5 separate regions of the Homo sapiens genome follow, and all the other regions are linked to region 4. Evidence: promoter capture Hi-C in human tissues and cell types (Jung and others, 2019). All regions are on one chromosome and are shown on one strand. The core of a region is centred on a gene start or on the middle of the fragment in contact, and the rest is flanking DNA. Distances in the headings are between cores, read along the strand shown.

The links. The method cuts DNA at HindIII sites, captures the fragments that hold promoters and counts their contacts. A contact is called where the count stands out against the background at its distance.
Region 1: a contact is called between a fragment that was not itself captured here and the fragment with the promoter of NRDE2 in region 4, in 2 of the 25 tissues and cell types used here (dorsolateral prefrontal cortex and hippocampus).
Region 2: a contact is called between a fragment that was not itself captured here and the fragment with the promoter of NRDE2 in region 4, in 2 of the 25 tissues and cell types used here (dorsolateral prefrontal cortex and mesenchymal stem cells).
Region 3: a fragment that was not itself captured here is called in contact with the fragment with the promoter of NRDE2 in region 4 in 1 of the 25 tissues and cell types used here (dorsolateral prefrontal cortex).
Region 5: a fragment that was not itself captured here is called in contact with the fragment with the promoter of NRDE2 in region 4 in 1 of the 25 tissues and cell types used here (hippocampus).

What each region holds. Positions count from the first base shown.
Region 1 is chr14:90,910,862-90,914,760 of GRCh38, reverse strand. All of the region lies in intron 7 of RPS6KA5 (ribosomal protein S6 kinase A5), which reads left to right. Among named protein-coding and RNA genes, the nearest start is that of LINC02321, 85 kb to the right of the region's middle. The HindIII fragment of the contact is 8,995 bases long and covers 1-3,899 here.
Region 2 is chr14:91,070,503-91,074,331 of GRCh38, reverse strand. It overlaps a transcript of DGLUCY not described here. Among named protein-coding and RNA genes, the nearest start is that of RPS6KA5, 12 kb to the right of the region's middle. The HindIII fragment of the contact is 9,066 bases long and covers 1-3,829 here.
Region 3 is chr14:90,867,172-90,870,931 of GRCh38, reverse strand. It overlaps RPS6KA5 (ribosomal protein S6 kinase A5), which reads left to right. Exons shown (of 17, transcript NM_004755.4): 17 at 1-3,760. Among named protein-coding and RNA genes, the nearest start is that of LINC02321, 41 kb to the right of the region's middle. The HindIII fragment of the contact is 3,292 bases long and covers 1-3,185 here.
Region 4 is chr14:90,329,951-90,333,713 of GRCh38, reverse strand. NRDE2 (NRDE-2, necessary for RNA interference, domain containing) reads left to right here and starts at 1,773. Exons shown (of 14, transcript NM_017970.4): 1 at 1,773-1,873. The coding sequence starts at 1,810. RefSeq lists a silencer at 1,540-1,689 and an enhancer at 1,840-2,019. The HindIII fragment of the contact is 6,388 bases long and covers 1-3,763 here.
Region 5 is chr14:91,051,566-91,055,091 of GRCh38, reverse strand. The region is part of intron 1 of RPS6KA5 (ribosomal protein S6 kinase A5); the gene reads left to right. Among named protein-coding and RNA genes, the nearest start is that of RPS6KA5, 7.3 kb to the left of the region's middle. The HindIII fragment of the contact is 3,602 bases long and covers 435-3,526 here.

The sequences.
Region 1 (3,899 bases), core at 166-2,665, 580 kb before region 4:
CTCTGCATCTTCTTTCCTTTCTTCATTTGTTTTGCACTGCTTCACTCTACAACCTGTTGGGGTGAATCATACTTTGTTATTAATTGCTCTGAGGCACTCCCTAGCGGGGTGGAGCATTTGGAGTCCTGAATAAAAACCTAGGGATAGGCCAGGTGCAGTGGCTCACGCTTGTAATCCTAGCACTTGGGGAGGCCAAGGCAGGTGGATCACCTGAAGTCAAGAGTTTGAGACCAGCCTGGCCAACATGGCAAAACCCCATCTCTACTAAAGATTAAAAAATTAGCTGGGCATGGTGATGGGTGCCTGTAATTCCAGCTACTCAGGAGGCTGAGGCAGGAGAATCGTTGGAACCCTGGGGGCGGAGGTTGCAGTGAGCCGAGATTGCACCACTGCACTCCAACCTGTTGTGAAAGAGTGAAACTCCATCTCAAAAAAAAAAAAAAAAAAAAAACCCTAGGGATCATTCTTCCAACTGTGGAAAAGGTCCATCAGAAACATCATCAGTCTGCCTATCATTTCCCAGGCCTTCTTAGTCTCTCACCGGAGACCTGGCCCTCTGTTGTTTCCCTGATGATGCTGCAGTGTAGATTCTTTGCCGCCACCTCTGTGCACCACCCCAGCCAGTTCTCTACTGCTACAGTCAACCCAGAGTCTAAAAGGTCAGCCTCATACATACTGGAAAGGGCCGTGAAAGGAAGAAGGTAGTTTTCTGTGTTCACGACTCTGTCACACATTTTGGTCTCTGGATCACCTGCTGTTTCTCATGTACTCATGGTTCTCCATGGCCTCCCAAAGAAGGTCTCATCATTTTGGGTGATAATCTTGTCTCTATAGTCTGACTGCTGCTCTCTGCCTCTAGCTCTTTTCAGTTTAGCTTTCTCTTTGGAATTCCTTGCATTGAAGTCTGCTTCTGAGTGTCTTAGTTTTATTGTCACATGCAGCCACTTGGCTCCAAGGAACCCCCAAGGTCTGAGTTTACCACTCTCTTCCATCACTATCATCTTCCCCCTGTTAGGGAAAGGTAGTCTAAGGGCCATCATGGAATGATTGGAGAAGTAAAGGTTTAACAGCATTGTGTGGGCTACAGAAAAAAAAGTGTACAAAGGAAGAGAGACAGGAAGAGGTCTGGCGATAAAAGTCATACTAAGTAACTTTTAAATCTTATTTAAGACACTTCCAGGCACGTCTAACAAGCCAGTCTAGTAGCTCCACCAACAATCTAACTGTACAAGAGCGGTGAGGACCTCCAGCAGACCAGTTTGGTTCACTAAGGAAGCCTTAGCCATTGAGAGGAAGGGCAATTTTTGGCAATATCTATCACTTTTAGATAGAAGATGCTATAAATTAAAAAGAAAGCTCTTTTCAGCAAAATCTTTGCAGTATCATGCATTCATCTTTGGTTCCCCTAACTTTGTAAAAGAAACAAGTTTTTTCCTTCAGTCCCAGAAGCAATGGCCGGAGTGTGCACCTCTCAGATGGCTTCCCAGCAGTGTAGTAGGAGACCTGGTTAGTGTACTGGGCAGAAGAGGGAAATAAGATGCTTCATGTGGCCGGCCGCAGTGGCTCACACGCCTATAATCCTGGCACTTTGGGAGGCTAAGGAGGGTGGATCACTTGAGGTCAGGAGTTCGAGACCAGCCTGGCCAACATGGTGAAACCTCGTCTCTACTAAAAATACAAAAATTAGCTGGGCGTGGTGGCGAGTGCCTGTAATCCCAGCTACTCGGGAGACTGAGGCAGGAGAATCACTTGAACTCAGGAGGCGGAGGTTGCAGTGAGCCAAGATTGCACCAGTGTACTCCAGCCTGGGCAACAGAGGGAGACTCCACCCAAAAAAAAAAAAAAAAAAAAAAAAAGATGCTTTATGTGACAGTGAAGAAGAGTATTTATAGCTTACATAAGACATGCCCTGGGGACGACTCCCAGAGTTACTGGGTGGGTGAGACTTTTGAGTGCAGTCACAGATTCCACAGAAGCAGATAAGGATACCAGCCAAATAATCTCAATTTATTATTATTAATGACCTGGCTGGTGTGGCCTAGGGAAACACAGGTTAAGTGGATCAAGGAAGAACTCAGTAACACCAAAAGTGAAGTGACAGCCTGTCTCATAGCTAAAGGAAGACAGACTACTATAGAGTGACATCAACAGCACCGTTCACCTGGGGACCGCTGTGTGCCAGCCTCTGTGCTGAGAAGTCACCCACATTGTATTCTGGAATCCTCAGAACCCTGAAAAATAAGTGGTAGCATATGCAGTTTTACAGATGAAGAAACTAGGATGTAACTTGCCTGGGACTCAATGCTACTGTGAGGTTGGACTGGGATCAAATACAGAGTTACTGGAAAGTTACTCCATGCTGTCTTCACGGGTATCACTTGTTTCCATGCTGCTGTTTTCTTTCCAAGTCTGGCAGGTGCTTATTTCAGGTAAAAGACTGGGAAGTACTGGCCCACGGACTGCAGGGAATTGATTTCATTAATCAGTGGACTATTTGTTGAATAATTCTTTACTCCTAAGGAGAAAGAGAAATAGAGGGTAAAGTCCTTGTCCTAAGAACATTTATTTATATAGCATTTGGGAGGATATGGAATAAATACATGAAAATTCATAGTATCAGGGAGTTTTGACAAATGTCTGAGTGCTTTTAGGTAAGAAGAATGCTGGGGGAGGACAAAGGAGGTTTGGTTCCCTGGGGGTGGGCTGTCAGGGAAGCATTCATGATGGAGATGCGGACTGGGTTGGGTAGAAGAGAAAAGATGGTGGGGAAGTACCCCCAGTGGCACATGGGAGGTTCAGGACTCCATTGCCTCCTTGCCACTCTGTGTACTCCTGCCATTGGGTTCGTGATCTTGTAAGCGAAACTCATTTTATTGTTCCCACTCTAAATGTCATGTTCATTATAGTTTAAGATACGCATATGGGGTAAAGAGTCAATAATAACACGCAGAGACATATACTATTAATGTTTTGGTATATTATGTTTTATTCTTTTTTACTTGTATAATGTTGTACTCATACTAGAAATATAATTTTGTATTTTTCAGTTTTTGCTGAAATTTATGTCGTAAACATTTTGTTCTCTAATTAGAAAACTCTCTGTAAACATAATTTTGTAATGGCTGCTTAATGTACTATTGAGTGGATACACCATAATATGTTTCACTTTTCCCCTAGTGTTGGACAAAAATGTAGAGTAAGTGAAGCTTACTGAGAGCTGTTTCTAACTCAGGCAGGCACATAAATAATTTTATAATTCTGGGACCACATGGGAACCAGGAAGTGAAAGTCAAGAACGTTAAGTCATGAAATGGAAAAGATTGTGAACTTTTAAATGGAGGACAAATAGAAATAAATAAACAACCCATGAGAATGCATGCCATCTGCAGAAAAGCAAAAGAGCTATTGCAGGCATCTCACTGAAACTGTGAGGAAGAAAGGTCCTGAGTGGGCAAGATACAGTAAGTAGAAAACAATTTGACATTTATTTATTCACTAAATATTTGTTGAGGAGTTGCTATGTGCTAAGCAATGTTCTAGGCCCTGGAAATAAAGCAGTGAACAAAACAAAGAGAATTCTTACTCCATTAGAGCTTATGTTTTAGTTGAGAGAGATAAATAATAGACAAATAAACATATGGTATGCATGAAGAAAAATAAAACAGAGTCAAGGGATAAGGAGTATGGGGGTAATGGCTATTCTTGATAGGATGGTTAGAGCAAGCTTCTCTGAAAAGTTGACACTTGAACAAAGACTTCAGTGGGTTTAAGAGCATCCCCAGGCACAGTGGCTCACGCCTGTAATCCCAGCACTTTGGGAGGCCGAGGTGGGAGGATCATGAGGTCAGGAGATCGAGACGATCCTGGCTAACACGGTGAAACCCTGTCTCTACTAAAAA
Region 2 (3,829 bases), core at 59-2,558, 740 kb before region 4:
TATATATATATATATATATTTTTTTTTTTTTTTTTTTGAGACAGGGTATCGCTCAGTTGCCCAGGCTGGAGTGCATGGCACAATCACAGCTCACTGCAGACTTGGCCTCCTAGGCTCATGTGATCTTCCCACCTCAGCCTCCCAAGTAGCTGGGAATACAGGTGCTTGACTGTGTGTGTGTGTGTGTGTGTGTGTGTGTGTGTGTGTGTGTGTATATATATATATATTTTTTTTTTTTGGTAGAGATGAGGTCTCATTATGTTGCCCAGCCTGGTCTCAAACTCCTGGGATCAAGCAATCTGCCCACCTCTACTTCCCAAGGTGCTGGGATTATAGGTGTGAGCCACCGTGCCAGGCAATTTTTAAATTTTTTTGTAGAGATGGGGGTTTGCTATATTGCCCGGGCTGGTCTTAAACTCCTGGCCTCACACGATTCTCCCACCTTGGCCTTGCTAACTTCATTTATCTTCAATTTATCTTATGCAGTAAGACGGTCATAGCTCACTGCAGCCTCGAACTCCTGGGTTCAAGTGATCCTTCTGCCTTGCAGGTTCTTGAAGGTGTAGGGCTGAGGTCCTTGTTTCCTTGTTGGTTGTTGGCAAGGGAGCGGCTCTTAACTCCTAGAGGCTGCTCCTCAGGGCCTTTCCACTTGGTCCCCTCCATTTTCAAAGCCAGCAACCAGATAACCCTTTTGCATTAAAGATTTTTCATGCAGCCAGGAGCGGTGGCTCACACCTGTAATCCCGACGGGGATGGATCACTTGAGGTCAGGAGTTTGAGGCCAGCCTGGCCAATATGGCAAAACCCTGTCTCTACTAAAAATACAAAAATCTCTACTAAAAACACAAACATTAGCCTGGATGACAGAGTTAATTTTTAAAAAATTTTTTTGAGATGGAATCTCACTCTGTCGCCCAGGCTGGAGTATAGTGGCACGATCTTGGCTCACTCCAACCTCTGCCTCCCAGGTTTAAGCAATTCTCGTGCCTCATCCTCCTGAGTAGCTGGGACTACAGGCGTGTGCCATCACACCTGGCTAATTTTTGAACTTTTAGTAGAGATGGGGTTTATCCATGTTGCCCAGGCTGGTCTCGAACTCCTGAGCTCAGGCAATCCATCCGCCTCAGCCTCTCAAAGTGCTAGGCATGAACCACTGCACCTGGCCTGTAATTAACTTTTATGACATCTGCAAAATCCTTTTCACCACATAAATCACATAATCATGGGTGTAACACCTGGTGACAAAAGGCATGGGAGCCATCTTCCATCTTATCCTTCTATTCCACACTACTCAAGAAAAATGACTGTTATTTTTATTTTATGTTTTTTATTTTTTTTGCTGTCACCCAGGCTGGAGTGCAGTGGCATGATCTTGGCTCACTGCAAGCTCTGCCTGCCGGGTTCATGCCATTCTCATGCCTCAGCCTCCCGAGTAGCTGGGACGACAGGCGCCCGCCACCGTGCCCAGCTAATTTTTTGTATTTTTAGTAGAGACAGGGTTTCACCATGGTCTTGATCTCCTGACCTCGTGATCTGCCCGCCTCGGCCTCCCAAAGTGCTGGGATTACAGGCATGAGCCACCGCACCTGGCAATGACTGTTAGTTTTATATAGAATGAGCTTTTCTAAAAAGCTTTAGAAAGCACCATGAGGAAGTTTTGTTTTTTGTTTTTTTTTTTGGTGTCTCAAATCTCACTTTCTGGAAACAGCCATCAATATTTGGTATATGTCATCTGAATTTGGGCATGCAGAGCAAAAAGATCAATAGATAACAATGGAATTTTATTCTGCAAATTATTTTTAAGTAAAATTAAGTTTAATTTTACAGAAAACAGAAATTAAGTAAAATAGAAATAATTGCTGAACTTCAGCTAAATGTTTGTAAACCACAAAAATTCCTAAAATAATCCCCTTAAAGATAAGAAAAAACGAACACAAAAATCATCAAGAAATTAGAATCGTGTCTGTTTTAAAAAGCTGCAGTTCATGGAGTTCTTTTTTTTTTTTTTGAGACAGAGTCTCATTCTGTTGCTCACGCTGGAGTGCAGTGGTGTGATCTCAGCTCACTGCAACCTCCAACTCCCACATTCAAGAGATTCTCGTGCCTCAGCCTCCCGAGTAGCTGGGATTACAGGTGCATGCCACTATGCCTGGTTAGTTTTTTGTATTTTTAGTAGATAAGGGGTTTCCCCAGGTTGCCCAGGCTGATCTTGAACTCGTGGGCTCAAGCGATCCTCCTGCCTGGGCCTCCTAAAGTGCTGGGATTGTAGGCATGAGCCCCAACGCCTGGCTGGAGTTCATTTTTTAGACTGGATTATTTTCCAGCCATTAAAGATGAGTAAATTTACATGCTTAGAAATCTTCCAACTGCCCTTTCCCCTCACTTCCCCATTTTTGTTAGGTGTATAATTATGTTCACAGTATAAGAGTTTGGAATGTTTACATTTTGTTCTTTTTTTTTTTTTTGAGATGGAGTCTCACTCTGTTACCAGGCTGGAGTGCAGTGGCGCGATCTTGGCTGACTGCAACCTCTGCCTCCTGGGTTCAAGCGATTCTTCTGCCTCAGCCTCCTGAGTAGCTGGGACTACAGGCACCCACCACCACGCCCAACTAATTTTTGCGTTTTCAGTAGAGACGGGGTTTCACCATATTGGCCAGGCTGGTCTCAAACTCCTGACCTCGTGATCCACCCGCCTTGGCCTCCCAAAGTGCTGGGATTATAGGCGTGAGCCACCACGCCTAGCCTACATTTTGTTCTTTAACCATAAATTCCACAGCTATTTATTCTTGGTTCTGTATTTAAAACAATTCAAAACTCATCTTCAGTATTTTTTTTAATCCTCAATTCCTTCCTTGATTTCTTTATTTTGATTAATCTCTTGGTTGAATAATTTCAACGTAAAAAACTTTTTTTTCAAGAATGTGGAAACTCTTGAGTTAATTCATGCTCAAGAATGACTGCCAACAGCCTTTAGACTTCTTTTTTTTTTTTTTTTTTGGTGGAATCTCGCTCTGTTGCCCAGGATGGAGTGCAGTGGTGCAATCTCAGCTTACTGCAACCTCTGCCTCCTGAGTTCACACCATTCTCCTGCCTCAGCCTCTTGAGTAGCTGGGAATACAGGCGCGTGCCACCACACCTTGCTAATTTTTTTTTTTGTATTTTTAGTAGAGACGGGGTTTCACCGTGTTTGCCAGGATGGTCTCTATCTCCTGACCTTGTGATCTGCCAGCCTCAGCCTCCCAAAGTACTGGGATTATAGGTGTGAGCCACCACACCTGGTCAGCCTTTAGACTTCTTAAGGGACAATTTGGCAAAATATAAAATTCATGAGTCACAGCTTCATGCCCTTAAGTTTTATAAACCTTGCTTCATTGTCCTTTAACATTGTGTTGCTCTTGGTTTTTAAAAATCTGATGTACTTTGTTATTGATCACTCTGTACTCATTTTACCTTGACACAGTGTGTGCTTTCTACCTGCTGACTCAAGTCTTCATTTTGGTTAAGTTTCCTCCATTATTCTATTGTTTCATTTGTTCTGACTTGGTCTTCAGGAATGCCAATTATGCATCTATTGGATCTCTATTGCTTATTTTCCATAACTATCAAATGTTTATGATTATGTTTATTTCTTTGTTCTTTTCCATATTGTTCCATTGTTTTCCCTCTTGTTCATTCTCTTTTGGTTGATTCCAAAGTGGCTTTCCTGTCTTTCTTTTCTTGAGATTTGCCACTCAGTTTTTTCCTCTTTTGTTGTTCTATAATTCCTTACTTTTACTTCTGAACCTCACCTTTGAGTATTTTTTTTATTTTAAAAAGAGATAACTTTGTA
Region 3 (3,760 bases), core at 290-2,789, 540 kb before region 4:
TGCTCAAAAGTTCTGAATTCATACAGAAAACAAGTACTATGTGATGAAAACATTTCATTAAAAGATTGCTGCATTTAAAAATACAATTAATTCGTTCCCTATGCAAAAAAAAAAAAAAAAAAAAAAGAAGTGATAGGGTTTGTGTGTTATATTTTCTTTTAAAGCCATCATGTGAAATGTCAGGACTGAGAAAAGTGATTTTTTTGCTTTGTTTACAGGAATCATGCTTAAAGAGATAATGCCCAACATGTTTATTTTATAGTTTTTGTTAATGATAACCTTTTGAGCATTAGTTTGGAATTTGGACATGATATTTATTTATTCCTTTCTTGAGGTTATAGCAGCATTAATTTCAACCAGTTATGAATACTAAAAATATTGCACTCTATGTAATAGTAGTATATTTATTACTAAATCAATGTATATATTAATAGCACAGGCAAAAAATGGCAAATATTAAAATATTTTCAAAATATTATATTATCCTGTTCACATTTTGTCCACAGTGGTTATTGGGAATAATATTTTACACTTTTTGCTGGCCCAAATGGCTACATAATATTGAGTTAATGAAAGTTTTCTACTCCCAGCTTTCAGTTATTCCTAGTAATTATGGGAAATTTTGTGTGAATTATTACCAAACTATTGCTAATTCACAAAATGTGATTCCATCAGGCACAGATCTCTAGTAATCAAGAAAATGACCATATTTATAATTATATTGGACATATTGGGAACATATTTGGCTCTTCAAGCCATTTTTTAAACTGTGCATCCTGGTAGAAAATACTAGTTATAAAGTACAAACTAAAGGGACTATGTTGCTAATAGAAAATGATCCAGAAAAATGGTCAGACAGTATACAGATTGATGATGTGATTGATTTCATTGTGAATATTGGAAATTAATGGGTTTCATTTTCATTTATTTCCCTTGCCTCTTCTTGAGGAGGATTCGACAGGCGATGAAATGGGTAAAAAGGCAGTCAGACTAACAGGAAGAAGGAAAGATAGGCTAGCTGTCAACTGATGAGCCTGCCTGAATAATCTCAAATGGGCTTTTGAAAAGACCTTAACAAACACTGTTGCACTCTTGTCAAATATCTTTATCTACACCCTACTTATAAGTACCAAAAAGACAGCATTTGATGCCAAGTTTGAAGCAGTTAGGTCCTATGCAGGCTGTGTATTAACATACAGTGAATTGCACTTTAAAATTCAGAAAGCTTTCATTTGGTCACATCAAAAATAAACACTACAAAATATATAAAAAGTTAAATGATAGGACTCTTTTTTTGGTATTAAGAGTAAAATAGAAGAAGATCTAAGAAATACAAATACTTACATTATTTCTCCTTATGACATTAACTTTGGGACTAGAGCCACACCACCCCCTCCCTTCTTCACTTACTGATTGTATTGCATATAATTTTCATGCCAACATAAATCCTGATTCATATATTTTGTAACTGTATATGACAAATTGAGAGGCAAGAATAAGAAAAGGAAGATAATAGAGGAAAGATGTTAAGAAAGACCAGTTTCTTCTAATTACTCTGCCAGATCGTGTGTCTGAAAGAGGTTAATTAGCATTTTGAAATTGATTGGCTGAGTGTGGTGGCTCAGGCCTGTAATCCTTGTGCTTTGGGAGTATAAGACTGGAGAATCACTTGAAACCAGGAGTTAGAGACCAACCTGGGCAACATAGTGAGACACTGTCTCTCCAAAAATAAAAATAAAAATTAGCTGAGCATGGTGGCTCATGGGAGGCCAACATGTGGAGGATCGCTTGAGCCCAGGAGTTCGAGGCTGCAGTGAGCTGTGATCACACCACTGCACTCCAGCCTGGGCAACAGAGCGAGACCCTGTCTTAAGAAAAAAAGAAATTCATTAATTCTTCCAAACCTTTATAAAGTAAGAAACCACTGAATTACTAGAATAGAAAGTCAGTCTCCTGAGTTAATTTCCACATTGTTGTCTGTCTTGGAGTCACAGGTTCATTACCCAAGAAAACTGCCTTTTAATTTTTTTAGATTACTGTTGATTTCTTAAGTATGTAAATGACTAACTTTTAAATATAAGGTAAGTTATTTTAAAGAAATCTACTAAGATAGAAGTCACTTTTTTTAAAGTAAGGAAATTCCTTTTGTATCTCAGTTTATGTTCTCAAATACACTACTTTATAAAAGTATACAATTGACTGGATACTTATTCACCTTGCCCCCATTTCAAGCGCCTGTTATTGTCATATTTATTAAAAACAGGGTACCTCATAATGGTGAAAATTTCTAAATTATTGGGTCTATATGTGCCTTAGACTGCCTGATTACTTTGGCTGTTCTCCCAGTGACTGATAATAATAGCATGATTTGAGTGTTCATGTGAGAATACATCTAATATTCCTTAAGATCTAAGTAAATAAGTTAAATTCTGATATGCCACTTATGTCAAAATAATTGTTATATAGATGAATTATTACTGTAACATCATGAAGTATCTTAAAATTATATGACTTTTGGCCTCTCAAATGTCTTACATGATAATACCCCAATTTCCAGTCTTTAATTGATTGTATACCTCACGTAAGTGTCTGTCATCACTTGATACCTGTATCTGGCACTAAAACAAATGTAGCCGGCTCTAATGAAATTTGAAGTTTGGATAGGAGACATTGTAAAACTCAAGAATGGGAAAAAAAAATTTTAACAGAAGTATGTATGAAGGAAATATTTTAAGTATAATCTACCCAAAGAAAATAACTGCTACAGCCAACATTAAAGGTTTTATTCCCTGTTTTGTTAAGTAACTTCACTCCAAATTGTGACATTCTTTAGAGAAAATATTTTCCTTAAGAGTAGTTATTTACGTGTTTTATTGGGGGAGCATATTTTCAGGGGGGCAACATCTTGCTAAGAACATTTGATTAGCCTCACTTCTGTCCTCACCTTCTATATTGCTTACTTTTCAAGATATTTCTTCTGAGCCCTTTTCTTTGTATGCCCAGCTCCCTGTTATGTAATTAAGTAGTTGATTACCATTCCAAATGCTTCCCCTACACAAGGCTGTTGTCCACCCTGTTTCATGAATTTGTGAATTAAGTAGGTGCCTAATATTTTCCTACTATTAGGGTGAAAAGGAATAAGAAACTAAAGTGGCTTCCAAATGTTTGTGTCTTGGTTTCTTCACCCTAGTGCAAAATAGGAAATGTTTATTGGCAGTCATTTCTTTTCCATTACTCCTTTTAACCACATTACAAAAAGCTAGGATTTTGTGTCTAGAAGGAGACTTGTATTAAAAGACAAGATTCTTAGTAGTTATTCATCAGGCTTAAGTTTCCTGGTGTATTTCTTGTGGGAGAGGTAGAAGGACATTTTGTAGTAGTATTCTAACTATTAATATAATGCTGCTTGGGTTATCAGAAAGTATTGAATACTTCAGATAAGTCAAGTTAGTATTTAGTATAGCAGCTGTTCTTCAGAGCACAGGAAACTGGGATAGTATGTAGTATTATGCTGTTTCCATTATTGTTTCTCATTGCATAACACTTTTAATTTATATGTTGGTATACAATTTGCCCCTTTACTAAAAAAAAAAATCTAGTTTCATTCTTGTTCCTTGCCACATTAAGCAGTTTTTTCATTTACGTTTTAAATTTTCTTAATATTAGAAGAAAAAGAAAACAGAACAAAAGAGAAATGTCATGACTTAGAAAAGGAAATTTTAAGTTTTATGGAATACTGTAGCTTTATTTTCTGACATTT
Region 4 (3,763 bases), core at 524-3,023:
AGGAGGCATTGGGATAGACTATTTCCATCCCAGTTACCTGAAGTGATCTGCTAAGAAAGACAAATGCTGCCCCAATTAATTGAGGTAACTTAGAGTCAAAGATTTTGGCAGAACCTGAGATTTAAAGTTGAAGACATACAGGAATTACTGCCCCTATTGTCATACTAAGCTCCTTTTTGTAAGTACTCTGCCAGGGACTTCAAAGCATTAAGGGTGTCTATTTTGGACTCATAGAACCTAATTCTTATGCAGGTCTGCAGACTTCATCAGAGTCCATCCATTCCTTGATTAGATGATTACATTTGCATCTCTGGTTTATAATGTATTTCCTAACTAAAGATCTTTAACTCCCTAGGATCCCAATAAATATATCTTCATTTACCTATCTATTTTCACTTGCAAATATTTCAGTATATATCTCTAATATATAAGAACTTTAAAAAGTAATCTCAGGCTGGGTTGGGGGGTGCTCAGGCACAGGCACCCAGCACTTTGGGAGGCAGAGGGGGGCAGATCGCTTGAGCCCAGGAGTTCGAGACCAGCCTGGGCAACATGGTGAAACCCTGTCTCTATTAAAAAAAAAAAAATTAAGCCAGACATGGTGGTGTATGCCTGTGGTTCCAGCCACTTGGGAGGCTGAGGTGAGGGGATTGCTTGAATCGAGGAGTTCGAAGCTGCAGTGAGCAGAGATCGTACCACTACACTCCAGCCTGGGTGGCAGAAGGAGACCTTGTCTCAAAATAAATAAATAAGGGTCACCTCAGTGACATAAGTACTTTAGTACATCTAACAGAATTCACAAGAATTACTTGTGAATTGCTTGTACTCTGCCTACCTTCTTATTTCTCCATCTATCTTAAAAAGGTCTTTTTACAGTTTGTCCAATCAGAATTATAATGAGGCCACAAATATGTTGTATTTGCTTGATGTGTCTGTAAGATCTTCGTATCTATTACAATCTCCTGCCCTCTTAAAGCCCTTGATATGTTAAGGAAGCACGGTTGTTTTCTATAATTTCCCATATTCTAGATTTGGCTAATTGTTTCTTGGTAGTACAAAGTCTTCTAAGTTGTTCCTTTACTCTCTATATTTCTGGTAGCAAGTGTGATTAGATTTTGGGTGGGAGGAACCGGGGTCAAGAATGCTTCACAGACAGGTATTTCCTAACTATCAAAGACCCTTGAACTTGATGGGACTTTCCATTTTTCCTTGTTCTGGGGTATTTAATATGGTAACCTGATTGAAGTTCGGATATCTCACATGACTTTGAGCCGAACTTGCAGTCGTAATTCACATAATAGCTAACACATATTAAGTGCTTTTCATGGGCCGGACTCAATGCTAGGCCCTTTATAAATATGTTCATTTAATCTTCTCAATATTTTGCAGATAAGGAAAGTAATGCTTAGAGCGTTTAAGTTGACCCAGTTAGCAAGGATGGTGTGAATTTAGGGGTCGAACTGGAATCCCAATTTCCTTAGTCCCTTTCGCGGTCAACAATTCCCTTCTCCGGTTTTCGCAGTTCCGGTTCTCACAGGGTCCCAACCACTAGGAACCCGTCACTCCTCGCTCCGCCCCCCTTGGCCCCGCCCCACCCTGCTTTGCCCTGCCTCTCCCTGCCCCGCCGCGCCCCAGTCCCTTGACGACCCTCCTCTCTGGGCCCCGCCCCTCCCGCTTCGGGGTCAAGCCCCAGAGAGCGCCGCGAAAACCACATTTCCCAGAGTGCACCGCGACGGCAGGGGTCCTCAGACCGGCGCTCGCTCGCCGGCGCCATCCCTATAGAGAAGAACGGAGGTACGGCCTGTGGTCATGGCGCTGTTCCCAGCCTTTGCGGGGCTTAGTGAGGCTCCCGATGGCGGGAGCTCCAGGAAAGGTAAGCACACAAACGAGCCGAAGAAGGCACCTGGGGGGCTTAAGAGGCTGTTTCTCGGGCCCAGGTCTAGACTTTTGCTTTGGATTTGTGTATCCATTTGTATCCCAGAGTTCTCCGCGGCGCTGCAAAGCCTTCTGGGAAAGGCTCAATCCCTCCGAGGTCTGGGGCCCAGAGGCCTGTTCTGGACCAAGGTTGTAGAGTTATGGAGGGGTGGAGAAAGACCAGCAGATGCCCTGGAGCTGGGACTTCTGTACGATGTTGTTAGGTCCTGTTCTTCTTTTCGAGCCTCAGTTACTTCATCTTTAAATTGGGAATAATGATACTCGACATCTCGAGGAAACCCTTGATGCAAATGCAGAATGTTTTTATTACATATTACTTCCTTTCCTGTTATACTTATTTCTGAAATGCTTATTAGATTGGTATTACTTAGCGGCCTAGAGCTAGGGGATTAGTATCCAAAACCTAATCAGTTTCTCTCTGGAGGGGCACAGCACCCAGTGAAAATAACTAACATTTATTCTTGAGGGCCTAGTGTGTATCAGGTTATGGCTTTACACATTTTACTTAAGTCCCAGACATTTCCAGCAGAGCTGCATTGTTCAAAATTGGGGTACATAGTTCATTTAAGAAGTAATTAATCCTGGCCAGGAGCAGTGGCCCACACCTGTAGGTGGAAGGATAGTTTGAGCCCGGGAGTTCATGACCATCATGATCAACATAGCGAGACTCCTGTCTCTTAAAAAAAAAGCCAGGCGTGGTGGTGCACACCTATAGTATCAGCTCCTCAGGAGGCTGAGGTAGGAGGATTGCTTGAGCCCAGAAGTTTGAGGCCGCAGTGAGCCATGATCGTGCCGCTGCATCCTGCCCTGGGGTGGGGGGACCTTGTCTCTAAAAAAAAAAGAAAAAAAAGTAATTCTAAATTATGTGCCATATGTGACAGGGCGCAATTGAGTCTTACCTGTCTGTTATATCCTCTAATATAGTTCCTACACTTTCTGTAACGTTTCTCCTAATTTTTTTTTTTTTTTTTGAGACAGGGTCTCACTCTGTTGCCCAGGCTGGAGTACAGTGGCACTGTCATAACTCACTGCCGCCTCAGACTCCTGGGCTTAACTTCCTGCCTCAGCCTCATGAATAGCTGGAACTACTGGTGTGCACCACCAGGCCTGGCTAATTTTTTTTAATATTTAGTAGAGACGAGGTCTCACTGTGTTGACCAGGCTGGTCTCGAACTCCTGAGCTCAAGCGATTCTCTATCTGAGCCTCCCAAAGTTCTAGGATTACAGGCATGAGCCACTGCGCTTGTCCTATTTCTCATAATTGTGAGTAATTTCTTGTGTAAAATTGTTGTCTTCCCTTACTAGACTGTAATCTCTATCAGGTTGGGCAGTGTTTGTCTATTCATTGTAGCATAGTTAGCCCCTAGCACAGGTCCAAAGTATAATAGGTGTTCAATAAATATTTTCTGGATGTACAGATCGATAGTAGTTACTTAATAATTACGTGTTGCAGGAATGCATGAGTGCACCTAAAAGAAGTGTATAGTACAAGGTGGGATATTACAGATACCATAGGTGAACTGCAGGATTAATTACTTCTTTTTATTTATTTATTTATTTATTTTTTTTTTTGAGACCAAGTCTTGCTCTGTCGCCCAAGCTGGAGTGTAATTGTACGATCTTGGCTCACTGCAGCCTTCGCCTCCTGGGTTCAAGTGATTCTCCTGCCTCAGCCTCCCGAGTAGCTGGGACTACAGGCACTCACCACCATGCCCGGCTAATTTTTGTATTGTTAGTAGAGATGGGGTTTCACTGTTTTGGCCAGGCTGGTCTCGAACTCCTAACTTTAAGTGATTCGCCCACCATAGCCTCCCAAAGTGCTGGGATT
Region 5 (3,526 bases), core at 986-3,485, 720 kb before region 4:
GTGTGAAGTGATTTTCCATTTCCCTAATGCCTAATGACAAGCATCTTTTCATGTGCTTATTGGCCATTTGTATACCTTTGGAGAAATTTGATTCAGATCCTTTGCCCAGTTTAAAATTGGCTAGTTTGTCTTTTTTTATTATTGAGATATGAGAGTTCTTTATGTATTTTAGGTACATGTCTCTTATCAGGAATATGGATTTGCATATATTTTCCTCCATAAATGAGCTGTCTTTTCACTTTTTTGATGGTTTCCTTAGGAGCACAAAAGTCTTTAATTAAAAAAAAATTTTTTTTTTTAAATAATAGAGATGGGTTCCTGCTATGTTGCCCAGGCTGGTCTCGAACTCCTGGGCTTAAGTGATTCTCCCTCCTCGGCCTCCCAAAGTGTTGGGATTGTAGGTGTGAGCCACTGTGCCTGGCCTAAAAGTCTTTAATTTTTTTTTTTTTTTTTTCTGAGACAGAGTCTTGCTGTGTTGCCCAGGTGGAATGCAGTGGCATGATCTTGCCTCACTGCAACCTCTGCCTCCTGGGTTCCAGCAATTCTCATGCTTCAGCCCCCTGAGTAGCTAGGATTACAGGCGAGTGCCACCATGCCTGGCTAATTTTTGTATTTTCAATAGAGACGAGGTTTCACCATGTTGGCCAGGCTGATCTTGAACTCCTGTCCTCAAGGGATCCACCTGCCTCAGCCTCCCAAAGTGTTGGGATTACAGGTGTGAGCCACCGCTCCTGGCCCTAAAAGTCTTTAATGTTGATGAAACCTTTTTTTTTTCTTTTTCATTTTATTCTTGTGTCTAAGAAATCATTGACTAATTCAAGATTATGAAGATTGATGTCTCTGTTTTCTTCTAAGAGTTTATGGCTTTAGCTGTTACATTTAGATCATTGATCCATTTTAAGGTAATTGCTGGATATCATGTGAGGTAGTGATTCAGACTCATTCTTCTGCATGTAAATATCCAATTGTTCCAGCACCATTAGCTGAAAAGACTATTTTTTTCTCCATTTTAATGTCTTGGCACCCTTATTGAAAATCAGTTGACTATAGATGTATGGGTTTATTTATTTTATACTCTCAGTTCTCTTCCAGTGATCTATATGTCTCTCCTTATAGCAGTACCATGCTGTCTTGACTACTACAGTTTTTTAGTAAGTTTTGAAATTGAGAAGTGTGAGTCTTATTCTTCAACATTGTTTTGGTTATTCTGGATTCCTTGTATTTCCATATGGATTCTAGGATCAGCTTGTTAGTGTCTGCAAAGAAGCCAACTCAGTGGCATTCTGATAGGGATCTCATTGAATTTTTAGTTAAACTTTGGCAGTGTTGCCATCTTAGCAATGTTAAGTCGTCTGATCTATGAACATGAGATGTCTTTCCATTTATTTAGGTTGTCTTCAATTACTTTCAACAACGTTTTTCCGTTTAAGGAGTATAAATTTGCACTTTTGTTAAATTTATTTCTAAGTATTTTATTATTTATTTATTTTTTGATGCTATAGTAAAAGGAACTAGTTTCTTACTTTTATTTTTGGATTGTTCATTCCAAGAGTATAGAGGTACAGTTTTTACCTTGTGTCCTGCAACCTTGGTGAACTAGTTTATTGGTTCTAATAGTTTAGTGGACACCTTAGGATTTTCTATTTATAAGATTGTGTTAGCCATGGATAGAGATAATTTTACTTCTTTCTTTCCAATCCAGATATCTTTTGTTTCAATTTCCTGCTTAATTGCCTTGGCCAGAACCTTCACTATGGTTCAATAGAACTTGCAAGAGCAGACATCCTTGTCTTATTCCTGATCCTAGGGTGAAAGCTTTAGTCTTCTACCACTGAGTATGGGGTTAGCTATGGGTTTTTCATAGATGTATTTTATCAAATTGAAGAATTTCACTTCTCCTCCTAGTTTGGGTGTTTTTTTAAATCATGAAAGAGTGCTGGATTTTGTCAGATGCTTTTTTCTGCATCTATTAAGATGACCATTTTTTTTGTTCTGTTCATATGGTGTATTACATTAATTAACTTTTGAATGTTAAGCCAACCTTGTATTCCTGGGATAAATCTTGTTTGTCATGGTATATAATCCTTTTTCTTTGTTGCTGGATTCAGTTTGCTTGTATTTTATTAAGGATTTGTATCTATATCCATAAGAAATCTTTGTAGTGTTCTTTTTTGGTGATACCTCTGTCTAGTCTCCCCAAAATATTCTTGATTGAGTTCTGTCACCAACTAAAGAGCTTTTTTTTTTTTTTTTTTTTTGGAGATGGAGTCTCGCTCTGTTCCCAGGCTGGAGTACAGTGACGCGAACTCTGCTCACTGCCAGCTCTGCCTCCTGGGTTCACGCCATTTCTCCTGCCTCAGCCTCCCAAGTAGCTGGGACTACAGGCACCTGCCACCACGCCCAGCTAACTTTTTTTTTTTTTTGTACTTTTAGTAGAGACGGGGTTTCATCGTGTTAGCCAGGACGGTCTCGATCTCCTGACCTCATGATCCATCCGCCTTGGCCTCCCAAAGTACTGGGATTACAGGCTTGAGCCACCGCGCTTGCCTAAAGATCTTATCTATTTGATTAGTGGTATCCATATTTACAATCTCTTAAGTAAATCTGTTTTTTTTTTTTTTTTTTTAAGAGACGAGTCTACTCTGTTGCCCAGGCTGGAGTGTGGTGCTGATCTCGGCTCACTATAACCTCCGCCTCCTGGGTTCAAGTGATTCTCCTGCCTCAGCCTCCCAAGTGGCTGGGATTACAGGCACCCACTACCATACCCAGGTAATTTTTTTTTTTTTTTTTTTTTTTTTTTTTTTTTAGTAGAGATGGGGTTTTGCCATGTTGGCCAGGCTGGTCTTGAACTCCTTACCTCAGATGATCCATCTGCCTGGGCCTCCCAAAGTGCTGGGATTACAGGCATGAGCCACTGCATCTGGCCTTAAGTAAAGATTTAACAGAGGTAGGGAGTGGACTGTAGTTCTAAGTCAGCCCCTAATTTGCTATATGACCTGGGATAAGTCATTTTGCCTTTCTGAGCCCAAGTTTTTTGATTCATAAAGTAAAGGTGATGGACTGAGTTATAATCAAAGTATTTACGAGCATTAAAGCTCTTCTGTGGCATTTCCATGGAAATTCTGGTATAGACAAAGTTAGTTCCTTGTCTTTTCCCGATCCTAGGGGGAAGGCTTTAGTCTTCTACCACTGAGTATGAAGTTAGCTGTGAGTTTTTCATAGATGTTCTTTCTCAGGTTGACAAAGTTCTCTTCTATTCCTAGTTGGTTTGGGTGAGCTTTTTCTTTTTTTTTTAAATCTTTCGGCCAGACATGGTGGCTCATGCCTGTAATCCCAGCACTTTGGGAGGCCGAGGCAGGTGGATCACCTGAGGTCAGGAGTTCGAGACCAGCCTGGCCAACATGGTGAAACCCCATCTCTAGTAAAAATACAAAAACTTAGCTGGGCACGGTGGCGGGCACCTGTAATCCCAGCTACTTGGAAGCTGAGGCAGGAGAATTGCTTGAACCTGGGAGGCGGAGGTTGC